7 separate regions of the Homo sapiens genome follow, and regions 1, 2, 3, 4, 5 and 7 are each linked to region 6. The links are contacts of gene promoters, found by promoter capture Hi-C in blood cells and fetal thymus (Javierre and others, 2016). All regions are on one chromosome and are shown on one strand. The core of a region is centred on a gene start or on the middle of the fragment in contact, and the rest is flanking DNA. Distances in the headings are between cores, read along the strand shown.

Region 1 (3,633 bases), core at 366-2,865, 810 kb after region 6:
TGAAGATATCCAGACAGTGCTTTTTAAGCGCTCTGTTTCTAAGAAAAATAAAATGAATCGCATGTACTCAGCATGTTGCACTCAAAGAGCATTGGTAATATAAAAATAAGTAATTAGTACTCAGTTTTCAAAGGAGGTAAAAATCCAGGAATTGCATTTTGTTCTGAGGCAAGCTGGTATATTTGCCCTGGTTTGAGCCATCAGGCTATTTATATAGATCCTGCCCAGGAAGGCCTCTGGCTCATGATGCTGTGAGCCATGTTTTATGGGTTGAATTGTGTCCTCTAAAAGAGATATGTTGAAATCCCAATCCCAAATACTTCAGAATGTGACCTTATTTGTAAATAGGGTCTTTGTAAAGGAAATCAAGTTAAACTGAGGTCATTAGGTTGGGTCTTACTCTAATATAATATGACCAATGTCCTTATTAAAAAAAGGAAATTTGGACACAAAAATACACACAAGAATGCCATGTGAAGATAAAGGATATTGGGGTGATAAATCTACAAGCCAAGGAATGCCAAAGATTGCCAGCAAACCACCAGAAGCCAGGGAGAGGCATGAAACCGATTCATCCTCACAGCCCTCAGAAGGCATCAACCTTGCTGATATCTTAATCTAGTACTTCTAGGCTCCAGGACTGTGAGACAATGAATTTCTGTTGTTTAAGCTACCTAGTTGGTGATACTTGTTATGGCAGCCCTAGCAAACTGATGCATTATACCTTAATTCTAATCTCCTAATTTCTGAATTATATATATTCTGAATATATAAAAAGGGCTCCCCTCCCACTTGGGAACAACTCCTATAAGAGGTGAGGGCTGAAACAGAGGGAAGACCTACTGAGATTCTGATATGGGATAAGGTTCCTCAAAGCATGGTTTTCCTGCCCTTAGATCTCTAGCTGCTATCTCTCTCTACCACATCCCTCTTCTAAGTCAAAGAGATGACAATGTCAAGTAAAAATTGATTCTAGTAGATCCTCTACTTATTTTCTTCTCTGAAATGAAATAATTTTCTTCCACATAAATCTAGGGGTCTACATTGCCAAGTGGTAAAATAGTTGGAGAACTTAACAATGTCTTCTCAATTTTATGTGTGACATGAAAGTGAGAACTTTTTTTTTTAACAGAAAGGAAATATCAAATCATGTAGAAAAAGTCCCTCATTTTACTAAGCAGGAATCAATACCCAAAAGATTTCTAGTCCATTAATCCTTCCACTGGGTCCCATGCCGGTTAAGGATGGGAGACAGAGAAGCGTGCGGATTAGGAAAGTACTGTACTTCTGCAACTTAATGGCAAGTGAGATAACTTTGGCTTTAAGAGTAATAAAAAAAAAAGGAGCTTTAGTAACACATGATTGGTTCAGTGATGAGATCTGCGGCCAAAAGCAATGTCTAGTACATGAATCAGAAATTCTTGATACTACTCATCACTGAAGTACAACGGAATTTCAAAGGAAAGAAAAGAAGTAAATTAATATTTATTGACCACCTTCATTGTAACACTACTTAATATCCATTATCTCATTTAAACTTCACCACAGCAGCCTTATTAGTAACCATATTTTATAGAAGAATAAACTGAGACTTAAAGATGTTTAGAAACCTTATCCAGAAAATAATGAGCAGTAACTGGCAGAAATGAGATAGAAACTTACATCTGTATCAGCCTGCTAGGATAGCAGTTGTTCTTAACTCCATGAACAATCTGCATCCTAATCACTTGCAGAACTACTTTAAAGTGTGAGTTTAAAGTTCCTAAACCCAGAGATCCTGATTCAGTTGGTCTGTGGGTGGGGTCCAAAAATTTGAGTTTCAAACAAGTTCAGTATCACATTTAATTTTTACACAAGTCAGCAGTGTGCTACATTTAAAAAAGTTATTCTTTGAAAATGATTCTCAAGTGAATCTTAATCTTTTACATATTAGTTCAGATTAGTCACTATACCATAGAAACTGTGCCATTCTAAAATAGAATGAAAATAACCCCTCCCCATTTCAGTGTTTACCAGCATATTGTGTGACACAATAAGTAATAAGTTCCAACTATGAGATTATTTGAATAAGTACAAGGAAAAGTTAGACACTGACACAGGATGGACAATGTTGTACTTTGACAAATAGAAACATTTAAAAATTATCATCTATTATAATCATCTAGAAAAAGAGATAACACAAAAAATATAGGAAAGGCATAATATTAAACTGTTTTATAAGCCAAATAAATTTAGTTTTATAAAAAACTTACTTCACTGTCCTTATTTTTCTCATTTAAATTAACAAAACTTCATCAGGAACCAAAACAGGTCAATGGATTGAGCCATGCCAATAGTTCACTGTCATGAGAATAAAAAGTCCAAATAAGACTCAGTCTTTGACTTTAAAGGTATTGCAATTTAATTGAGATAATCAAATTTACCTGCATGAAATGACTCAAAACCAATATAAAATAGTACATAATTATGTACAGGCATACCTCAGAGATATTGCAGGTTCAGTTCCACACCACTGCAATAAAGTGAGTATCACAATAAAGGGAATGACACAAATTTTTTGGTTTCTCAGTGCATATAAAGAGTTATGTTTACACTATAGTCTGTTAAATGTACAAAAATATTATGTCTAAAAATACACAAATCCTAAGTTAAAAATACTTTATTGCTAAAAAATGCTAATGCTCATATGAGTCTTTAGTGAGTCATCATCTTTTTGCTTATAGAGGGTCTTGCCTTGGTATTGATGACTACTGACTGATCAGGGTGATGACTGATAGGCTGGGTGTAGTGGTTCATGCCTGTAATCCCAGCACTTTGGGAGGCTGAGGCAGGAGGATCACTTGAGCTGGGGAGATAGAGGTTACAGTGAACTATGGTAGTGCCACTGCACTCCCACTTGGGTGACAGAAAAAAAAGCGGGGGTGGTGGTTGCTGAAGGTTTAGGTGGCTGCAGCAATTTCCTAAAATAAGACAACAAATGAAGTTGGCCACATCAGTTGACTTTTCCTTTCATGAAAGATTTCTCTGTAGAATGTGATGGTGTTTGATAGCATTGTACCCATAGAACTTCTTACAAAATTGGAGTCAGTACTCTCAAACCCTGCCACTGCTTTATCAACAAAGTTTTGTAATATTCTAAATCCTTTGCTGTCATTTCAACAATGTTTAGAGAATCTTTACCAGCAATAGATTCCATCTAAGGAAACCTTTTTTTTTTTCTTATCCAAAAGAAACAACTCGTCATCCATTCAAGTTTTATTATAATATTGCAGCAATTTAGTCACATCTTCAGGTGCCACTTCTAATTCTAGTTCTCTTGCTATTTCCATCACATCTTCAGGTGCTTCCTCCACTAAAGTCATGAAGTCATTCATAAGGCCTGGAATTAACTTCTTCCAAATTCCTATTATAATAAATTGACATTTTGACCTCCTCCCATGAATCACAAATGATCTTAATGGCATCTAGAATGGTGAATCCTTTCCAGAAGGTTTTCAGTTTACTTTGCCATATCTATAAGAGGAATCACTGAAGCAGGTCTAGCCTTATGAAATATATTTCTCAAATAATAAGACTTGAAGTTTGAAATTATTCCTTGATCCATGGGCTGCAGAACAGATGTTGTATTAGCAG
Region 2 (3,513 bases), core at 612-3,111, 590 kb before region 6:
AATCAGAAATGTGTGATCTTTGTGTCTAACAATGCACTTAAAAAAACAAAACAAAAAATTCCCTTGCTGCAATGCTGGAATTCTAACAGAATTTACTCATCTTCTCTCTCCTCCCCAATTTTTAAAAACATGTTCTCATGGAAATGTTGCCTTGAATTACACAAAATACAAGCAGTTACTGGAAATGTTTTCTACACAGTTCTGTTCATGTATATCAATTTCAATTTGTTTTTCACTTTTTAGATTTTTTTCTTAGTTTTGCTGATAATCACACTTCATAATCATATCAACTTTGAACTTTGAAGTTGTGTTGAATTTTTATTGCTCTCAGCTGTATCAGATCCTACTTTTTGATGAGTTATTTCATATAGTAAGTTTGTTGAATGAATGGTGAAACAATGAACACAGGAACAAGAAAAGAAAGCAAAATGCATCAAACTTAGGTTTAGTTTTATCTCCAGTTTAACCATGCTCCCTTAAATGGAAATGCTAATATACTTCTTTTTTTCTTTTTTCTGTAACAGTTCATATGTTTTTGCTAGGAAGAAGAGGAGTTACTGAAAACAGTAGTTAATATCAAAGTCATAAGTCATTTATAATCAGCCTTAGAATGCCTACAGATGTATATACATTTTTCAAAACACTTATACTCTGCCTTTTCTGAAGCCAAGCTTCTCTTGGCTTATTCTTACTTTTAGTACTTGTGTGCTGGAAATTAGAAACCTCAGATGCCCTGCACAGTGTAGGACTATACAATTGTGCTAGGCATGTATTTATAATTCTTTAACTCTTCTACCAAACTGTGTGCTTTTTAAGGGCAAAAACTGTACAACTTCTTTAGCATGCACCTGTCACTTGCAAATAAATGTCTAATTCTGTGGTCCCTTCAAAGGGAGAAGAGGAGGCTAAGCAGGCAAGGCTCTAGGCCTTGGCCCTGCTTCAGTCAGAATCTTTCTTGTACATGTTGATAATTTCTTTCTTCTACAGATAGAAAATTCCTGGGATAAGAATTTTGATGGGAAAAAGAGTTTATTGCCTTTAAAAAAAAAGTTTGAGAATGACTGTTTAGGGGAGATACTCTCAGTATCTTGTGACATTATCTAGTCTAGCCCCCATCATTTTACAGGACTGGAAACTGAAACACAGAAAGGATACGTAGTCTTGTCCAGATTATACAGCTATTTAGTGGCAGAATTAGAATTAAAATCCCTTGTCTTGACTGCTTGACCAGTATTCTTTATAGTGGTGCTACAGCATATGTGTTGTAAAAACCTAGGAGTTTTCCAAGATCACTGCATAGTGCCTGACAACGGTAGACACTCTGTAAATGTGTATTACATTAATGAATGAATGATTCTAAGCTGGTTTGTAGTTAATTAAGCCAACTTCAAATAAAAACTATAATTTTTCATCATCCCAACGAAATATTGACCTCTTAGAAGCCCTGAATTTGGCCTGTTCTAGGACTAAGCCAATTGTTATATATAACAGATTGTTCTTTGTTAATTTTAGGATCACCTGCTGTTACCAGCTACCACCCATAACAAGACCACAAGACCAAAAATGTCAATTGTGTTACCAGCAATAAACATAAATGGTAAGTTGAAATTCTGATGTATGAACAATATGAGATTTCTTTGTTTAACCAGGATTCTCTTCATTAGTTCAAAGACATTTAAAATGTTCAGTTAAATGAGTATATATCCGTACATTATTTCTGAAACATTTTTCCACTGTTTTATTATTTTTAAGATCCATTATTCTTTTAAAAAAAATTACTACATCCCTAAAAGAAAAAGTAGCTTTCTTTTACTTACAAAATTGGAAAAGCTAGCATCTTGACTGCTCTACAGACTTGCATCTGCGACCCTTCTAGTCATAAATGTAGTGTAAGAAGCCCCTGCTGTGTTCTGACAGTGAATTTGTAAATTAGATTTTTGGAACTCAAAGCAGTTTCCTGTGTTACCTAAATGTTGATATCATCCTAGACCATGCCACAGAAGCCTGTTTATGTTTAATTGATAATACTGATGAGTTTGACACTGATAGTATTACTATTGCATTTTGTTATATTACTAGCCCTGGACATTAAACAAAATACAAATAATAATATAATGCACAGATGTTAAGGCATAATATACCTGCTTATAGTTTAGAAGAAAAAAAAAGACAAGCACAAAAATCACTGTACTCCAAAGAGAAAGTCACGTAAGTAATATGTGAGGTACTAAGAAATCTAGTGAAAAGAGATTACTTTCAGCTTGATTCTTCATGGAGAAGTGAAATAACTCACTCCCATTACCAGTTGTGGATTATAAATGAGCACAGTGTATGTTATTGACTAATTGCTTTCTCTGACACATTATATTGAAAATCGGAGAGTTGGCCATCTTTTTCAAGTTTGTGTATCTCACATAATGTAGGTACTAGTAAATTTTCTGTCTGGTAGCAAAAACCTCAGTATATGAAGAAGATGGAAACGAAAAGCCCTTTGAACTAACCTGCAGTCGAACCAGTTCACATTTTGATTGATAAATATAATTAAACCTTCAAATACAATTATAAAACAAAACACTAGAATTTTGGGGGGATTCCAGATAAGTTTCAATAAAATTTAGTCTTTAGGGGAAAAGTGGTATTCATCATACATTTTAAGACCATAGAGGACCTTAGAATTTCATGATCTGTATATAGACAGCTTATTAGAAATGCTTAGGAAGTAACTTCATAGACATAAACATAAATGGGCTTTTTGTTAAAGCATAAAAATTACAATATTTACTTAGCCTTACAAAGACATTCAGAATAAGTTTAAGAAAAACAGTAACATTGAGAAGAACATCTCTTTCTTCAGTAAAGACATACCTTTGAAGTTACTCATGGAATAATCATTTACTACCTGAAGAAGAATATATTCCAAAGTGCATTTTATTACATTCCAAAGAATGTATTTAGGAAGTCTCACTTATACTCAATCTATAGGTACCTAAGTTTCTCTGCCTAAACTAGAATAGACCAAAGGGTCAGCTTATGCTCAGAAAGGCTATTTTCTAAGCTTTATCAAGGCAGAATTCACTTAATTTTGTTCTTCTGATATTGGGTTCTTATGCAAGAGAATGCCTGGTCTTATTTTGTAACAGTGAGCTATCTTTATATTAAGCCAAAACCAACAAGATGCTGTTTGACTATGTTTATCTTGGCCAGGTGACTGATTTTTGAAGAGGAGCCTTTCATGGATTTGGAAAAATCCAGTCATTAGAGGATCATTGTCTTTTTAATCTGTTTCAGACTCTTTGTAAATAGTCTTTTTAAAAACTTCCCTTTTTAGGATAAGTCCTATTAAAAAATCAAAATTCAAATTCAAGAAATATTGATTGAATATATACCGTGTTTCAAGTACCATGCTACATCCTCAGCCTTTTCTCTTAACAGTCTTGCTCTGAGGATACTTCTTAAATTAGAGCCTGATTTTTTCCCCTTCCTCATGTACCTCAAAGTCTGCAGCAGGGCAGG
Region 3 (3,643 bases), core at 52-2,551, 710 kb before region 6:
GATATATTGTTTTCTGCATCTTTCATTTTCACTCGTTATATTTTGGTGACCTTAGCTTCCATATCTGATTGAATTTTAAAAGTAGATTTTACCTTCTTTCTTGTTCATTTTATTATAAGTTTTTATTGTCCAGTGGGTAAAACCTTTCCTCCATGTTTTCCAGTTAAAGATATTAAGGCAGAACCTCAGCCACTTTCTCCAGCCTCCTCAAGTTATTCAGTCTCGTCTCCTCGGTCAGTGGACTCTTATTCTTCAACTCAGCATGTTCCTGTGAGTAGCCAGTCTTTTACAATGATTTTGGTTATAATATGCTATCTGGAAAATATGTATATGGAGGAGGCAGTTAACATTTATTGAATACTACTATGAGTTATATTGTCTCATTTATTGAGGGAACTGAGACTCAAGAAAGAGCCTTGTGGGAGCTAGAAAGTTGTTAGTGCCTTTGGTTTTGCTCTCTTTTCCCCTCTGTTCATGCCTCCATAATTTCATTGTTTCATTTGTTTCATTGCATTTTAACAGTATCCAGTATTTGTTTATTGGCTTACTGTCCTTTCTCCCACCCTTTCTTTCTCCTCCCTATTAGGATATACATTCTTTATATATGGACATAGAAGAATGTAAGATGGTCAGTTTTTATATCTCTTTAGTCACAGCATCTAGAATGATTGCCTTAGTTTGGGAATGCCTAGTGCTACCTTTTGAAGGGGCTCACGTTTTTATAGAAGTCTGGTAGCTCTTTTAAGAACACTTCTGCTCTGTGTCCAGACAAAAGCCCTGAGGCCAGGAAAAGGAAGTACCTGATTTAGGTACTTTTTAGAATGGGGAAAGGGAAAGTATAAGAATAAAAAAATCAAATAATATTTTAGTATATTATATGTGCTATAAATTGTGGTATCTTTGTTCCTGCAGGCTCTACATTTAGTTACTAAATCCTGGTGGTTATATGCACATATTAATTCAAGGATTTATCTTTTCTGCCCCTGCCAGGCCATCACTATCTCACCTGGATTAAGTCAATAGGATTTTAACTGGTCAGCCTTACAACTCCTCAAACCTTTCTTAGCAGTGGAATCTTCAAAGAGAAATCTTTCAGTGTCACAAGCTTTACTGTATCAGTCATTTGCTTAAAACTTTTTAGTAACTTCCCAGTCCTTACAAGGATGAAATTTAAATTCCCAGAGTACTAGGCTTTCCATGATCTGGCCCCCATTTACTTTTCCAGTCTCTTTTCTTGCTATCCCCTCCTACTTCCACATTCCCCTTAATTTGAGCCCTGTGAGAGTTCCTCTCTGAGAGCTCCTATGCACTCTACTCATTCAACCGCTGTGCCAGGCACTGTTCCAGATGCTGGCAGTGAACAACAGCAGTGAGATTGCTGCTGTTACAGTTCTAGGTTTTTGCACATCCTCTTTCTTCTGCCTAGAATAGCCCCATTTTTTTCTTGTCTTGGAAAACTCATCCTTCAAGTCCCAGTTCAAAAACTACTTCCTTTATGAAGCTTTTCTCTGATTGCTGCTATTGGTAGCTCTCTGAGGTCCCACAATTTCTCCAAATGATTTAATTTTTTAAAAAATTAATAATTACAAAAGGTAGCATACTGTATACCCTGTCCTGTACCTTGTTTTTTTAGCTTAGCAGGATAACTCTTAATTTCAGAGTATATAATTTTCCCATTATGCTACATAATGTTTCATTGCATGGCCTTATCATGCTTAATTTAGTGATTTCCTTATTGATGAGTATTTGTGTTGTTTTTAGTCTTTTCCAGACCCAATTAACCTGTACATAAGTCTTTTCCAGACTCAAATAACCTATAGTAAATAACCTGGTACATAAGTCACTTTATATTTTTACCAGGATATTTTTGGGATATATTTCAAGAGGTGGGATTGTTGACACCAAGGTAAATACACTTGAATTTTGCTAGATACTGCCAAATTTCTCTCTATAGGGGTTGTAAAATTTTACATCCTCATCAGCAGTATGTAAGAGGGCCTGTTTTCCCATCATCACTCCACAATAGGTTTTGTTTTATATCTCTTTTATTATAAGTATGGTTAAATAATATCTATTCATATGTTTTATATGTTTAAGGCCTATTTGCATTTCTTTTTAAAAAATGAACTGTCATTTCAAATTTTTGTTCTTTTTTTTTTTTTGGAGATGAACTCTCTCTCTTGTCTACCAGGCTGGGGTGCAATGGCATGATCTCGGCTCACTGCAACCTCCGCCTCCTGGCTTCAAGCAATTCTCCTGCCTCCTCAGCCTCCCGAGTACCTGGGATTACAGGGATTACAGGCACCTGCCACCACACCCGGCTAATTTTTGTATTTTTAGTAGAGACAGGGTTTCACCATGTTGGCCAGGCTGGTCTCGAACTTCTGACCTCAGGTTATCCACCTGCCTCGGCCCCCCAAAGTGCTTGGGATTACAGGTGTGAGACACTGCGCCCGGCCGTTCATTTTTTAATTGAATTGTATTGGTCTTTTTCTCTTTAATATTTTAGGTGCTTTATTATATATTAGGATTATTAGTCCTTAGTTTGTGAAATAAGCTGCAAATATTTTTTCCCCAATTTTTCTTTTGTCTCTTTGCTTTATTTCTGGTGTTTATTTTTCCCCAGGTGTACTGTTTTCTATAGCCAAATTATTGATCTTTTCTTTAATTGCTTTTTTGTTCACTCAAAGGAAGGTTTTCACCACTGAGAGGTTATAAAATAATTCACTCATATTTTTACTCTTTTTTTTTGCTTATGTTAATTTTTTGTTTGGAACAATCTCAAATTCACAGAAGTGTTGTGAGTACCTTGCAAATAACTTGTTTTTTCCTTATGCATTTCAGAGTAAGTTACCAGTCCGATGCCCCTATCACTCCAATACTTTAGTGTCTACTTCCTACAAGCACAGATATTTCTTAGCCATAATACAAGCACAAAATCGGGAAATAAACATTAATATGTTACTATAATCTAACCTTCAGCTCTCGTTTAAATTGTGCCAGACATCCCAGAGGTGTCCTTTAGACTATCAAAAGGACCCAGTTCAGAATCAAGCATTGCATGTGGTTATCTTGTCTTTTTAATCTTGTTCAGTATGAAACAGTTCTTCATTAATCCTTGACTTTCTTCACCTTGTCACTTTTGGGGATTAGGAGTTAGTTATTTTGAAGAGCATTTCTTAGTCGGGTTTGTCTGATGTTTCTTTAGGATCATATTCAGGTTTTATATCTGTGGCAGGAATGTCACAGAAGTGCTGTCTGTGTCCAACTTTTGATGACCCAATTTTGATTTTTTCTAATACTGATTATTTTCACTTTGATCCCTTCATAGATGTTATCTGCCAACCTATTCCATTGTGAAGTTGCTTTTTCTCTCTATGCCATACATATTTTGTGAGAAAGATACTTTAAGACTATGTAAAAATATCCTGTTCATCATCACACTTTATATTTGTTCACTTATTTGTTAATATCTGTATGGATTCATCGTTTCTTATTTTATTCAACAGATTATAATCCGTTACTATAATTATTTATTCTGATTCTTACATTGTTCTGGATTTGGCCAGTGGGGGTCCCTTCACACCAGCTCTTATGTTCTTTTAACATGTCTCCTTTGGGCTCTGATGTCCTTACACTAGGC
Region 4 (3,419 bases), core at 761-3,260, 750 kb before region 6:
CCGGCCCATACCACATTTTCTTTATCCATTAATCCATGATGGACATTTGGGTTACTTCTACCTTTTTGCTATTGTGAATAATGTTGCCATAAATATGGGTGTGCAAATATCTTTGAGATCCCACTTTCAATTCTTTTGGCTATATAACCTAGAAGTGAGATTGCTGGATCATGTGGTAATTCTATTTTTAATCGTTTGAGGAAACTCCGTACTGTTTTCCCTGGTGGGTGCACCATTTTACATTCCCTTCAGCAATGCATAAGCGTTCCAATTTTTCCACATCCTTGCTAACACTTATTTTCTGTGCTTGAAAAAAATACTAGCCATCCTAATGGGTGTAAGATGATATTATTATTGTAGTTTTGATTTGCATTTCTCTAATGATTAGCAATTTGAGCATCTTTTCCTATGCTTTTTGGCCTCTTGTATATCTTCTTTGGAGGAATGTCTATTCAGGTCGTTTGCCCAGTTTTTTGAAAATTGGGTTACTTGTTTTTCTGTTGTCGAGTTGTAGGAGTTTTTTATATGTTCTGCATATTAACGTATCAGATATATGCTTTGCAATTATTTTTTCCCATTCCATACAAATTCCTTTTCTCTCTATTGACTGTTTTGCTTGATATGCAGACACTTTAAAATTTGATATAGTCCCATTTGTCTATTTTCGCTTTTGTTGCCTGTGCTTTTGGTATTTTATCCAAAAAATTGAGGGAGAAGAAAAGGAAAAATCAGTTAGGTAGACAGCTAAGGCTAGCCCTTGGAGAAGCAGTCTGCCTGAAAAATCACAGCTACAAACAAAATAGAGCAGCTTAGGCAAAACTCAGGCTGCACCTGCACAGATAAGCAGGTAGGGTCCAGCACAGACGCTTTTCATTCTTCGTGTAATTGGCGAGCTCCCAGGAAAAACTTTCCTCCCCTTTTCAGGTATATACACAGTGGACTCCGTGGGAACTTGCACAGGAAGGAGGGGGGCTTACCTAAAACAAACCTACAGTGATACAAACAAGAGAACCCACGCTTTGTGCTTGCCTAGAGACATACCCACATCGGCAGAAGATAAGGGAAGTTGCACAGACAGATTTATTCATAAGAGAAGTTACTCAAACAACTATAGAGATGAGAGGAGTTTCTTATAATAGGTTTTGAATTCAGCTGTAAAAATGGCACCCCACTTGGGCTCCCCTCTCTGCTGTGGAGAGCTTTCTTCTTTTGCTTATTAAACTTTTGCTTCAACCTCACTCTTTGTGCCCATGCTCCTTAGTTTTCTCGGTCGTTAGACAAGTTCGGATAACACCTTAGACAATGAGACCATTAACCCTTACCTGTTTCAACATTTTTATCAAATCCAAGGCCATGAAGCTTTCCCCCTATGTTTTCTACTAAGAATGTTATATTTTTAGGTCTTTAATCTATTTGGAGTTATTTTTTGTGTATGGTCCAAGGTAAAGGTCCATCTTCATTCTTTTGCATGTGGATATCTAGTTTTTCCCAACACTGTTGAGGAGATTGTCCTTTTTCCATTGTGTGGTCTTGGCACTCTTTTTGAAGATTATTCTAACATATATGCAGTGTTGCAGGTGATTAGCAGCTTTCTGGGCTGGTGACATGGGTGGTAGGAAGAATTTACCAACACAGTTGTAGGTAAAGAAAGGCAGGTTTATTAGATAAAGTATGAAAATACATTGCAAGGGTGCAACAGGCAGGTCAGCAAGAGAGAAGCTGACTGCTAGGAAACAAAGGCTTGCTGGGGATTTTGTAGAATGGTGCTTATGTTGTGGGTGGAAGAGGGCTTTGTGCAGTACTAATAATGCCAGGGTTGCAGTGAACTAACTTCCATTTTTCTATCAGCTGAGGGTCTGGTGATGGCTGGGCACAGGCAGATTGTGAGTTATTTGCACAGCAGGGCTATGTGTCCTGGACCACGAAGAAAGGCAGACTTATGGCTTGTCTGCTTTCTCCTTTTGCTTCCCTTCGTCCAGCCAGCCTGACTCCTTTTCCCTAATTAGGACTCCACACGCAAGGGTTTGTTCTGTTCCAGAATAGAGACACGTCGATGTATCTATCTTTATACCAGTACTATAGCTGCTACTTCTTGACCAATTACAGCTTTAGTATCTCTCTCACCTGTCCTCCCTATACAAAAGATATATAAAATATACTCACTGTACTGAGTATCTTCCTGCAGCATTCAGTCTGGAGCAAAGCCTGCTTCCTTCAACCCTTTCCAAAATCCCCAAATAAAAGCCCAAAATCTGTAGAGGATCTTCCTAACATCCTCGTGCTGAGATGCCCTGAAATTCTCCATAACTCATGACTGAGTAATAAAACCAACTTGCTTAATTAAAGTTGGTTTCTTGTAGTCCTGGCCGGAGGACATTGACTTACAAAAATATAGGATTAGTATCTTCAAAATAAATAGACAGTAAACATCAACAAGGATTCACACCCCAATAATGAAATTGGGCAGAAAAAGGAAAAATAATCATGAAATGCACAGTAAAGATGGCTCCATAATATTGAAAAAAATTTTACTTCAAATGCATAAAATGATGCTTCTGATTCAGCTGGTGCGACATTTATTTCACATTTGAGTTCAGCTGCTCCTGATGTCTCTTTCCTGAAAATTTCAATACTAAGAGCTCGAGAAACCCTGTATTTGGGGAAGCTTATCCTTCACCATCAACTTTGGGGGTAGGGGTCAGAGGGAACAAGGGTGGAAAGGCCGCGCTGAATGGGGCCGAAGCTCCGCCCCTCAGCGATAAGTCCAGATTCCTGCGGCCGACGTGGTCCTCCGAGGGAGCAGCAGAGCCGCCGAGGCTGGCGAGTCCCAGGGGAAGGATGTTCTAGCCGGAGTCTACTCGATGGTAGGGCAGGAAGCCGCCTTGTCTCTGGGCGCGGCCATGTTGGAGGCTCCGGGCCCGAGTGATGGCTGCGAGCTCAGCAACCCCAGCGCCAGCAGAGTCAGCTGTGCCGGGCAGATGCTGGAAGTGCAGCCAGGATTGTATTTCGGTGGGGCCGCGGCCGTCGCGGAGCCAGATCACCTGAGGGAAGCGGGCATCACGGCCGTGCTAACAGTGGACTCGGAGGAGCCCAGCTTCAAGGCGGGGCCTGGGGTCGAGGATCTATGGCGCCTCTTCGTGCCAGCGCTGGACAAACCCGAGACGGACCTACTCAGCCATCTGGACCGGTGCGTGGCCTTCATCGGTCAGGCCCGCGCTGAGGGCCGTGCGGTGTTGGTGCACTGGTGAGTGGCCGGGTCAGTGGGTGACGTGCCCCGCCAAGCTTCCAGCCGGCCCCCGTCGCCCCTTACCTTCCGAGGCCGTCGGGAGGACAAGAGCGCGGTCATGCCGCGTGAACCTCCTCCCGCTGCCTCCCGCAGGAGGCGTGTTTCCAAGAGAGGAGGAGGGTTGAGGCGGGCC
Region 5 (3,344 bases), core at 295-2,794, 730 kb before region 6:
GAAATTAAAAAAATTGGCGATTTGTCATGGTGATTTTCTTAAAAGACTAAGGTGTCTAGTGGGATACAGAAGACTCGATGATTTTATTTTATTTTAGGTTTTTTTTTTTTTTTTTTTTTTGAGACGCAGTCTCGCAATGTCGACCAGGCTGGTGTGCAGTGGTGCGATCTCCGCTCGCTGCAACCTCTGCCTCCCGCGTTCATGCGATTCTCCTGCCTCAGCCTCCCGAGTAGCTGGGATTACAGCTACTTGCCCGCCACCACGCCTGGCTAACTTTTTGTATTTTTAGTGGAGACAGGGTTTCACTATGTTGGCCAGGCTGGTCTCGAACTCCTGACCTCGTGATCCGCCCGCCTCGGCCTCCCAAAGTGCTGGGATTACAGGCGTGAGCCACCGCGCCCGGCCTTATTTTAGTTTTTTATGTCAATTTTTGAATTTGTAATTGGGTGAGAATTAAAGTGTTATAAATTTCACCTTAAGTGAAAATTTATTAGTTTTCTAATGACAAAAGTAGTTACATCTGACGTAAGGGGATTTAATTATCTTTTTCTGGGCTTGCGTCCCGGAACGCTGCTGCATTATGTAATCTGTAGTAATATACCCACGAGCAGTTTGGAGGGTTCTGGGAAGCACATTTGTTTTGCTTACCTACCATGGGAAAGATTCCACGTGGTCCTAGAAGCATACGTATTCGTCGGTTACAGTATTTTAAATATTCACTGGCCGCTGAAATTTAAAATGGATGAAAAAGAAATTCTCTTAAGTAGCGTTCTTGAAACTGCTTTATCAAACTCAGTTCATATTTTCAGTTGGAGTTCGTGATGTATGTGATTTTCCTTTAAATAAAACCCGAATCTTTAGTAATACAAATATTGGGAACTTCGATTACTGTAGGTCTTAGGGTAGACTCGCTTGGACTTTGACTAAATACTATGCTTTAGAAATTTATCTTTAGGAGATAAATTTGGGGGGTTTATCTTTTTATATTTGCTTTGTTTCAATTTATTTAAATAAAAGTAGTCTTTCTAGAAGTATGTTTTATAGTACCACTTACCTCGGTTACTGTCCCAGTTAAGCAGTTTTCACGAATGTGGAAAAATAGTAGTGTTTTTCTTTCATACACGCGTATATGAAAAATTTTTACATTGATAGAGAATTATTCGTAAAAATTAAAGTAAATTTACTGTTAGTCTCTAATTTTGTTCTGAGATAGCCACGCTGTGGCATTAAGAAGGATAATCAAGGAATAAGCCATAATGTTCAGAAAGGGGCTTTACTTTTTATTTTTAATATTATTGATAAACTTTGTTTAGTCGAATTGATGTCTGCGTGTCTTCCCCCGCCTTCCCCATAAAACAGCGGGACAGAAAGTCCTGAAAACTCCAAAAGGGAAATATTTACTCAGAGGTCTATTCAAATTTGCTTAGTCTCTGACGTTTTCCTGTGTCGTACAAATCCCTCGTGCGGCAAAAGTAGTTTGTCTTTACTAGGCCACCGTCTCGTCAGCGTTACGGAGTATTTTGTCCGCCTGCCGCCGCCGTCCCAGATATTAATCACGGAGTTCCAGGGAGAAGGAACTTGTGAAATGGGGGAGCCGGCTGGGGTTGCCGGCACCATGGAGTCACCTTTTAGCCCGGGACTCTTTCACAGGCTGGATGAAGATTGGGGTGAGTGGGATCTGAGAATGTACCAGGGTGGCTCGGGTTCGCGTCTAAAGGTTTCTTCCTCCCTACTTCCGCCCACTCGTGGTGACAGGTGTGGACCAACCCTGCCTGGGGAGTGAGGCCCCTCGTCACTCCTGTTCGTGCCCCTGGAAGAGTCTGGGAGTATCGTTCGGCTTCTGTCCTGGCCACAGGGAGAGTAGAATATTGTCTAACTGGAGTTAACTGTCGTTTTTCACTATTCCCACTGGGGAAGTACCGGGTGATCTTTTTGTGTGGCTAACACTGGACGTCTTTAGGAGGTTTAGAGCAAAATGGCTGGGACCGCCAAAAAGGCTACAAGCTATTTCCTGAGTGTGAAATGTGGGCGGTGAGCACAATGGAGTGGGTTTTTGTGTGTTTGGTGTATATGAGAGAATGTGGTTATATACAAGAAATTCTAATCTTACAGCTTTTACTATTGGTTTAAGCCTGATGTCCGTCTTGGCAGAAAAGCAAAACACCCAAGCACCTGACCTCGGGTCCCTGCTTAGCTACACCTAATACTTATGGTGTAATCCTGACTGCTCTCCAGATACAGCTCTTAATTTTCTTGTTAATGGATATTTTGTTTGGTTTTGGTGGTCAGGAAGGGTGGAATGGGATGAAGTGGAAATGAGAATGAAGAAACTTTGTTATCTAAGTATTTAGAGGAGACTTTTATTCTCCTCTTGATTGCAAGATATAATAGTAATATTGTTCTTAGGTTCCAATATGAATTTGGGATTGTGTAGGTTCCCAAATGGGCCCGCTAGTGAGCCTACACCACTCATCAGCCTTGGAACTGGGGGGAACCCAGTTTATCTTTCTCCCTTGGATCAGCATTCTCAATAGCAGGAGTGGAAGGAATCTCAACTTTTTATTGAACAAAGTCATTTAATTGTTTCAAGGACAGATGTTCTCTAAAACTATATTCTATTGGAGATTTATTTTAATCCTTGGGTAGATTTTTTAAGAGTTGCTGGAAAACTTAAGATTTTTTATTCCCATTTTCCCAAGCCAAATGCATTAGTGACAGTAACCATTTATTTAGCTCTTTGTGTCAGGGACCCTGTTAAACTCTTGACATGAAGTATTTTGTTTAATCCTACCAACAGTCCAATGAGGTACTGTTTATTTTAGAGATGAGGAAACTGAGGCTAACAGAATTTGTGCTCAGATTCTTAGAGCTAGTTAGTGGCAGAAGAAGGATCAGACCAGGTTTTTCTACCTCCAAAGTCTGTACCCCTAGCATCTATTCTATAATGCTTTCCTAACTCATGTCTACAGATTTTATTCTTCCTAAGATCCCTGGTTATTAATAAGACTACTTGAATATATTGGGTAGTTATGATTTATTTTGTCAGCTAGTCAGCTATTATATTTTCATGACATTTCTTTTCTTTACCTCTTTTTTTGAGATGGAGTTTCGCTTTTGTTGCCCAGGCTAGAGTGTAATGGCGCAATCTTGGCTCACCGCAACCTCCGCCACTCGGGTTTGAGCGATTCTCCTGCCTCAGCCTCCCGAGTAGCTGGGATTACAGGCATGCACCACCACGCCCGGCTAATTTTGTATTTTTAGTAGAGACGAGGTTTCTCCATGTTGGTTAGGCTGGTCTGGAGCTCTGGACCTCAGGTGATCCGCCCACCTCGGCCTCCCAAAGT
Region 6 (3,516 bases), core at 1,017-3,516:
ACTCCATAGGCAGAGCAACAGCTTAGGCTGCTCGACTTATAGTTATTCATATTTATAGTTATTTCTTGATTATATGCTAAACAAGGGGTGGATTATTCATGAGTTTTCCAGGAAAGGAGTGGGCAATTCCTGGAACTGAGGGTTCCTCCTCTTTTTAGACCATGTAGGGTAACTTCCAGGACGTTGCCATACCATTTGTAAATTGTAATGGTGCTGGTAAGAGTTTCCTTTAGCATGCTAATGTATTATAATTAGCATCTAATGAGTAGTAAGGACGACCAGAGGTCACCTTCACCACCATTTTGGTTTTGGTGGGTTTTGGCTGGCTTCTTTACTGCAATCTGTTTTATCAGCAAGGTCTTTGTGACCTGTATCTTGTGTTGACCTCCTATCTCATCCTGTGACTTAGAATACCTAACTTCCTGGAAATGCAGCCCAGTAGATCTGAGCCTTATTTTACCCAGCTCCTATTCAAGATGGAGTTGCTCTGGTTTGAACACCTCTGACAATCTGATGAGATTTTATGGTTTGTAGGCTGTGACTCCTCACATCCCTTAGATAAGAATTTGGGGCCAGGTGCAGTGGCTCACGCTTGTAATCCCAGCACTTTGGGAAGGTGAGGCAGGCGGATCACAAGGGCAGGAGTTCGAGACCAGCCTGACCAACATGGAGAAACTTCATCTCTACTAAAAATACAAAATTAGCTGGCATGGTGGCAAATTCCTGTAATTCCAGCTACTTGGGAGGCTGAGGCAGGAGAATCGCTGGACCCCAGGAGGAGGAGGTTGCGGTGGGCGGAGATGCCGAGATCATGCCATTGCACCCCAGCCTGGGCAACAAGAGCGAAACTCCGTCTTACCAAAAAAAAAAAAAAAAAAAAAAAAAATTGAGCAAGAGAGAAGACAGGTCAGAGTTTAGTCCTCAACCTCTCCTCAAACTTTCCACTTAGCACTACATGAACCATCTCATCTGGCTGGGAACTTACACAAAACCTGAAGAAAAGAAGATAGGGCCTATTGTCTGATACTAAGTTTTTGCCACACAATCAGAATAGATCTTGAAATAGAAAAGGTTGAATGACTGAAAAGTAAAGAAGGCTACATTTCTTACACACTCGAGTTTGTGGATTGAGATGCCTATTTGCTACATTTGTTACTCAATAAACGTTTGCTGAATGAATAAAATAATTGAATAAATAAATGAAAAATAAAAATTTGGAACAGATCCGTGTTTGCCCAGGGTGAATGCTTTTTGATGAGGGAGCCATAGGCAAGGTGGACTATGTTGATAAAAAGAGTTAAACTCTGTAAAATATTTGAAGAGATTTATTCTGAGCCAACTATGAGTGACCATGGTCTGTGACACAGCCCTCAGGAGATCCTGAGAACATGTACCCAAGGTGGTTGGGGTGCAGCTTGGTTTTATACATTTTGGGAGACATGAGACTTCAATCAAATATATTTAAGAAATACATTGATTTGGCCCAGAAAGGTGGGAAAACTCGAAGCGGGAATTGGTGGGGGGAGAAATGGGTCCTTCCAGGTTATAGGTAGATTTAAAATTTTTCTAATTGGCAATTGGTTGAAAGAGTTATCAATAGAAAGGAATGTCTGGGTTGTCATAAGAACTTGTGGAGACCAAAGTTTTGTCATGCAGATGAAGCCTCCAGGTACCAGGCTTCCAAGAAAATAGATTGTAAATGTTTCTTACCAGACCGAAGGTCTGTGTTGACCTTAACCGGAGAGGTATGAGGCTAGTCGGACCCCCACTTCCCGTCATGGACTGAACCAGAATTTTAGAGTGCCCTGGCCTGGGAGAAAGTCCATTCCGATGGTTGGCGACACGGGGGGCTTAGAATTGTATTTTCGGTTTACATCTAAAAGAAGAACAAAGGTCTAGGCTTCCAGAATCATGGGTTCTGGTGACCGTGGACCTGGAGGTGATGGTAAACTCTCTTTTTGTTCCTGGGGTGTTTTCCTTGGGATCCTTTCTATGAGAAATGTAGGCCGGGTTTTATTTTTCGGGTTCCTAGTGGTGAGGTAAGGTGAGGTGCCTCAACAAGAAAAAGGACCAGTTTTGGCTTCAGGTCTATGTGAAAGCGGTTAACACTGGGCCTGGAATGGTAGATACTCAATAATTAAGGTTACTTCTTATTCTCGGTTCTTTTTTCCAAACCTAGCGCGTCTAATCTCTTCTAGGCCCCGCCCCTTCTGAGCCCCCCCTCCTTCGGCCTGTATGATAGGCTCTTCCTCCATTTCCGGCTTCTGGGACTCGGGTGCACCACGGCTTCCGGTGTCATGGCTGCTTGAAGTCCCGGGAGTCGGTGAGGCGGCTGCAGGTCCCTCCCTGCGGAGCCGCTGGTCCGGCTGGCGGAGATGTGACCGCGGGCCCGGCCGGCCTGCCTCAGGCGTCGCGTCAGCTCCCGTGTCCGTGCCCTTAACCCACACCGATGGCGGGATCCGGCTGCGCCTGGGGCGCGGAGCCGCCGCGTTTTCTGGAGGCCTTCGGGCGGCTGTGGCAGGTACAGAGCCGTCTGGGTAGCGGCTCCTCCGCCTCGGTGTATCGGGTTCGCTGCTGCGGCAACCCTGGCTCGCCCCCCGGCGCCCTCAAGCAGTTCTTGCCGCCAGGAACCACCGGGGCTGCGGCCTCTGCCGCCGAGTATGGTTTCCGCAAAGAGAGGGCGGCGCTGGAACAGTTGCAGGGTCACAGAAACATCGGTAATTGCCGCTGTCTCCTTTCTCTTCTTGCCCAGGTCACAGTCCGAGCACACTCTTCCTCTCGCTGTCTGGCGTTCCATCTTCCTCCCCTTCTGCGGGAGAAGCGGGTTTAGCCCTCTTTATCACCCCATCCAGGCCCCTTTCCCCTTTCACTTTATTACTGTCTGCGGTATAGTGGAGTTGGTGGTCTGCTTTGCCAGGTGTCACATAGATGCTCAGTAAATTGTCTTGCTTCGAGTCTCATCGGAGAATGCCGCATTCATTAGCATACAGAAATATCTTTTCTAGTGAGAGGAGGCATGTCTTTGCTAGATTGTCGTGTCTTGTGTGGAAATTTTTGAATCTTTGCATACCAGTAGAAAATGGGAACTACGTCTGGGCCTTGTGACATCAATGCTAGTAACTCGTATAGCTCACCTATTATATCTTTAGTACGGATTTGGAAGAAATGATGCACTATTCCATGGGAGCCTTTATAGAAGTGTGAAATTTAGGAACACTATACCTTTGCTCTCTTGAGACTGTTTCAAGAATCAGATACTCAGAATGTAAGATATGTAATGATCACTGATGATTGATCTGTGAAAAGGTTTCATTTTCATTACACGACAGAAAGCTTATCATTAGTTATAGCTTTGGTTATTAAAGAAAAGTCTTATTTCCTAGCAAGTATGATGCATAGTTAATTTGAAGAGTGAGTTTTTTTATAATATCATTTTGGAGAAGAATTAACACTAGTGCTACATTTTTTTAGTTTACTAAATGGTCTGTTACTATAACCTTGGTATTGAAAAGGGAA
Region 7 (3,683 bases), core at 567-3,066, 700 kb before region 6:
ACATGATATTTTAGTTGCCAGTTATTTTAGTACCTTCATTTTGTTAGATAGGCTCAAGCAGCTGTGGATGTTAGGCAAGGCTTTCAGCACCTTATAAAAATCTGCCAGATCTGAAAGGAAACACTTAGCAGGCAAGTAAAATTTTTAATAGATTAGTGTTATGAGTTGTATAAGTCTTTAGGTTAATGGTACAGGTTTAGTACCCCTTAAATGAAATGCTTGGAACCAGAAGTGTTTCAGATTTTGGGTACTTTTGGATTTTAGAATATTTGCATATACATAATGAGATATCTTGGGGACAGAACCCAAGTCTAACATGAAATTCATTTATGTTTCATGTATATCTCATACACATAGCCTGAAGGTAATTTTATATAATATTTTAAATAATTCTCTGCATGAAACCAAGTTTGCATACAGTGAACCATCAGAAAGCACAGTTGTCACTATCTCCTGTGGACAATCTGTAGTTGTTTGGCACCACCATCATTCCTGGCTCTGAATTCATATGCTACTGACAAGCAATCATTTTCTTACACTTATTCACAAATTCACACCTAAGAACTTAACAAAAATTATGACATACCATTAATACAGTGAAAAAATAATGTGTGCAGAGTAACAAGGCAGGACAGTAGAATCACCAGAATACCAGTGTCAGCTACTACACAACAGCAACAACAAAAAATGGCAGCTTTCAGTCTCTGCCTTTGATGCTGTTTTCATTAAAAGCCTACTGTACCCTCTATTTTATGTCTTCAGGTGAGAAGAAACATCAGAAGCAGTTGAGAGACTGGAAGTGGGTCCTCTAGGGATGAGGAGGCATTCTGCTGGATGACTTCTAAAAATGTTTTCTATGGAGTCATCTGCCTCATTAACAAGTTTTTGTTTTAGAAGTCTCTTTTTGATTTTGTAAACTGACATGATTTCTTTTTCTGTTATGACTGTATGCTGCTTTAGTCCTTCACTAGGCCCATCACACATTTTTACCATGTCATCTATAGGCACTTTTTCTGCAGCGTTAACAGCATCATCTTCATTGTCATTATTATAGATTGAGTATCCCTTATCCAAAATACTTAGGACCAGAAGTGTGGAGTTTTCCACTTGTGAAGTTGTGTCAGCACTCAAAAAGTTTTGGATTTTGGAGCATTTTGGATTTTGGGTTTTTGGATTAAGGATGTTCAACCTCTAATAATTCTCGTCAGATTAGCATAAATTTAAAATAATGATACCTCTGAATACTCAGAAAAGAATTGAAGGCCATTTTTGGGGGAAGAGGGAAAGGGCTGGTATCATCTACAGACTATTTTGAATCACAGATTTATGTTTACCGTGATTGTTAGCTAAGATTTAATCTCAAATGGTTTTAAGTTTTTTGGTATTTGTAGTCTTTTTTTTTTTTTTTTTTTTTTTGTCCTTTTTAGGGATCTGCCTGCCTCAGCCTCCTGAGTAGCTAAGACTCGAGGCACATACCACCATACCTGGCTAATTTTTAAATTTTTTTTTGTAGAGACAGGCTATCACTATGTTGCCTTGGCTGGTCTCAAACTGCTGGCCTCCCAAAGCACTGGGATTACAGGTGTAAGCCACAGTGCATGGCCTGTAGCTCCTTCTTCTTCTAATATTGAGTTACTAAGTTTATGTTCAGATATTTTTGGTATTGTATGCATTTGTAAATCCTATTAATTTAGAATACATGACTCTCCATATTCAGTGTAAAAGATTTGTTATTTATAATAAGACAAATCCTTTTAGCACTAATAAATTTCAGAGGTTAATTCTTAGAAATCTAGGGATTACAGCAAATTTGATAGCTGTTTAGTTGAGAAAGATAAATAAGAAAGTATATTAAAGTATATTGTTAATGATAACTCAAAGAGATGAATTTAGTTGGTCACATTAAAAACATAACAAAGTCACCATAAGCGTGTGCTGCTATTGATCCAATGTTTTAATTGATGGTGTCCAATCCCTTGGTGTTGATCTTACCCATTACGTCTGCAGAAAAGACCTAATTATAAGCTGCTTCCCCTGCCACAGTAGTTGTGTACCCTTTGATTCCTTTTCTTTTTTCTAACGCAGGCCAGACGGTTTTGCTGTCTCAGCCTACTGTGGTACAACTTCAAGCACCTGGAGTTCTGCCCTCTGCTCAGCCAGTCCTTGCTGTTGCTGGGGGAGTCACACAGCTCCCTAATCACGTGGTGAATGTGGTACCAGCCCCTTCAGCGAATAGCCCAGTGAATGGAAAACTTTCCGTGACTAAACCTGTCCTACAAAGTACCATGAGAAATGTCGGTTCAGATGTAAGTTTTGAAACTTAGTGCTTCTCTTAATGCCTGATTTAAAAACCAACAAAAAAACACCTTTTGCTTTTGTTGCCTTGTTTTTGTTTTTTTTAGAGTTTCTTATATTGCATCAAATAAAAGAGTGTGCTGAATTGCACATCTAGTCTTTGGAGGAAAATTAGGGTAAGGCTTACTACGTTAGAATCTAAGTGAAAAGGTTTTTGAAAGTGAAGTGGTTTGATGAAAAGCAAAGTATGCATACCTCCCTCTTCTTTACTCCTTCTTTAGAACCAACCCTCTTATTATTCTCTTCAAGCCCTTACACCCTCAACCCAGTCATCCACTAATATTTTACAGATTCAACGTTTCCTGATTGAAATGTTTTAGCGATCTTCAGATAAGAGTCTATAGATTACTTTTTAGGTAGGTTTTATATTTAGCTTTCTTCCTTGCCGTTTTGAAGTATTTTCACCACTTCATAATGATGACTAGCTACTCTTAGGAATTCTGTCTCTTAGTGATTATTTGGTACTTTCCCATTTTTGCAAACCTTTAAATTTTCTAGCATGTTGTAGGGATTTCTTATAATTTATAAATCACATAGTTTCCTAAGACCTGTCACTCTCTAAAGCCAGTTACTGCACTTGCCAACTAACTCTTGCTTTCTTTCAAAATGATTGGAAATAACTTATGTATTAAATTGAACATCTTGGTCCTAAAATTTAATGAATGTTAAAGCTATATAGTCAAACAGTGGATTCTCTAAAGTTACGATTGGGAAAGCAAAGTGTGTATGTTTTCTTTAAAATAAAAATGGATACTACTAGTTGTTAATATTACTACTTCATCCTTTCTTTAGGTAGAATGCATTTGAAAAGTAATTTTAAAATCCTGTGGGTTATGCAAGGTTGTTTATCAGACTACTGTCTGATCTGTCTGCCAGAATTTATTAACCAGCATGTCAGTGACCCATTTAATTATAAAATTGCTCCACAGTTGCATAAACAGTAATCTCAGCCAGCAATATTGTAAAAATTCATAACAAAGGAATATTGTCTGGTGAAAGTAGAACATCCAGTTTCTAGAATAAGAGTCCCATCGTTTGTATAGGTATTGAAAACAATGCATGTCAAGACATGGAATAGGAAAATTAGTGTTGCTATGAGACTAGAGACCATGGACAGTACAGGATTAGGCTTGACTGTTATGTTGGTTTGTTTTGAGGACTAGAAGAGGTAAGCACAATGCTTATGGCATAATAGGCTCTAATACATAGCGTGTGTTTCAGTTGAAGATGAAACAATGTTGCTGGGATGGGAAGGTGGTGAGCACAGGATAGAGGCAACTGGATTGGCAAAATGTTGATAATGATGGAAGCTGGGTGTTTATTTTTCT

Evidence for each region. Contacts are between HindIII fragments. The CHiCAGO score rates a contact against its expected background, and 5 or more counts as called.
Region 1: a fragment that was not itself captured here is called in contact with the fragment with the promoter of UHMK1 in region 6 in 1 of 17 cell types (naive CD8 T cells); the score reaches 5.7 in naive CD8 T cells.
Region 2: a contact is called between a fragment that was not itself captured here and the fragment with the promoter of UHMK1 in region 6, in 2 of 17 cell types (M1 macrophages and naive CD8 T cells). The highest score is 6.5, in M1 macrophages.
Region 3: a fragment that was not itself captured here is called in contact with the fragment with the promoter of UHMK1 in region 6 in 1 of 17 cell types (M1 macrophages); the score reaches 6.4 in M1 macrophages.
Region 4: a contact is called between a fragment that was not itself captured here and the fragment with the promoter of UHMK1 in region 6, in 5 of 17 cell types (fetal thymus, non-activated CD4 T cells, naive CD4 T cells and 2 more). The highest score is 9.6, in fetal thymus.
Region 5: the fragment with the promoter of ATF6 here is called in contact with the fragment with the promoter of UHMK1 in region 6 in 4 of 17 cell types (non-activated CD4 T cells, naive CD4 T cells, total CD4 T cells and 1 more); the score reaches 6.9 in non-activated CD4 T cells.
Region 7: a fragment that was not itself captured here is called in contact with the fragment with the promoter of UHMK1 in region 6 in 1 of 17 cell types (M1 macrophages); the score reaches 5.5 in M1 macrophages.

The regions. Positions count from the first base shown.
Region 1 is chr1:163,306,292-163,309,924 of GRCh38, forward strand. LOC127814295 (a long non-coding RNA gene) reads right to left here. Exons shown (of 5, transcript NR_182654.1): 3 at 1-38. It also overlaps a transcript of RGS5 not described here. Among named protein-coding and RNA genes, the nearest start is that of NUF2, 14 kb to the right of the region's middle. The HindIII fragment of the contact is 4,687 bases long and covers 1-3,633 here.
Region 2 is chr1:161,910,784-161,914,296 of GRCh38, forward strand. ATF6 (activating transcription factor 6) reads left to right here. Exons shown (of 16, transcript NM_007348.4): 15 at 1,513-1,597. Among named protein-coding and RNA genes, the nearest start is that of OLFML2B, 110 kb to the right of the region's middle. The HindIII fragment of the contact is 2,384 bases long and covers 670-3,053 here.
Region 3 is chr1:161,783,827-161,787,469 of GRCh38, forward strand. It overlaps ATF6 (activating transcription factor 6), which reads left to right. Exons shown (of 16, transcript NM_007348.4): 4 at 164-270. Among named protein-coding and RNA genes, the nearest start is that of ATF6, 19 kb to the left of the region's middle. The HindIII fragment of the contact is 396 bases long and covers 1,104-1,499 here.
Region 4 is chr1:161,746,902-161,750,320 of GRCh38, forward strand. DUSP12 (dual specificity phosphatase 12) reads left to right here and starts at 2,885. Exons shown (of 6, transcript NM_007240.3): 1 at 2,885-3,244. The coding sequence starts at 2,901. RefSeq lists enhancers at 883-962, 1,063-1,112, 2,684-3,193, 3,255-3,419. The HindIII fragment of the contact is 1,306 bases long and covers 1,358-2,663 here.
Region 5 is chr1:161,764,776-161,768,119 of GRCh38, forward strand. It overlaps ATF6 (activating transcription factor 6), which reads left to right and starts at 1,545. Exons shown (of 16, transcript NM_007348.4): 1 at 1,545-1,667. The coding sequence starts at 1,586. ATF6-DT (ATF6 divergent transcript) reads right to left here and starts at 1,372. Exons shown (of 3, transcript NR_187280.1): 1 at 1,055-1,372; 2 at 649-726. LOC124904444 (a long non-coding RNA gene) reads left to right here and starts at 1,674. Exons shown (of 2, transcript XR_007066695.1): 1 at 1,674-2,031. RefSeq lists enhancers at 1,363-1,442, 1,473-1,552. The HindIII fragment of the contact is 8,902 bases long and covers 1-3,344 here.
Region 6 is chr1:162,495,552-162,499,067 of GRCh38, forward strand. It overlaps UHMK1 (U2AF homology motif kinase 1), which reads left to right and starts at 2,267. Exons shown (of 8, transcript NM_175866.5): 1 at 2,267-2,717. The coding sequence starts at 2,450. RefSeq lists enhancers at 2,003-2,503, 2,238-2,317, 2,504-3,004. The HindIII fragment of the contact is 6,861 bases long and covers 1-3,331 here.
Region 7 is chr1:161,799,967-161,803,649 of GRCh38, forward strand. ATF6 (activating transcription factor 6) reads left to right here. Exons shown (of 16, transcript NM_007348.4): 7 at 2,086-2,306. Among named protein-coding and RNA genes, the nearest start is that of ATF6, 35 kb to the left of the region's middle. The HindIII fragment of the contact is 3,864 bases long and covers 1-3,683 here.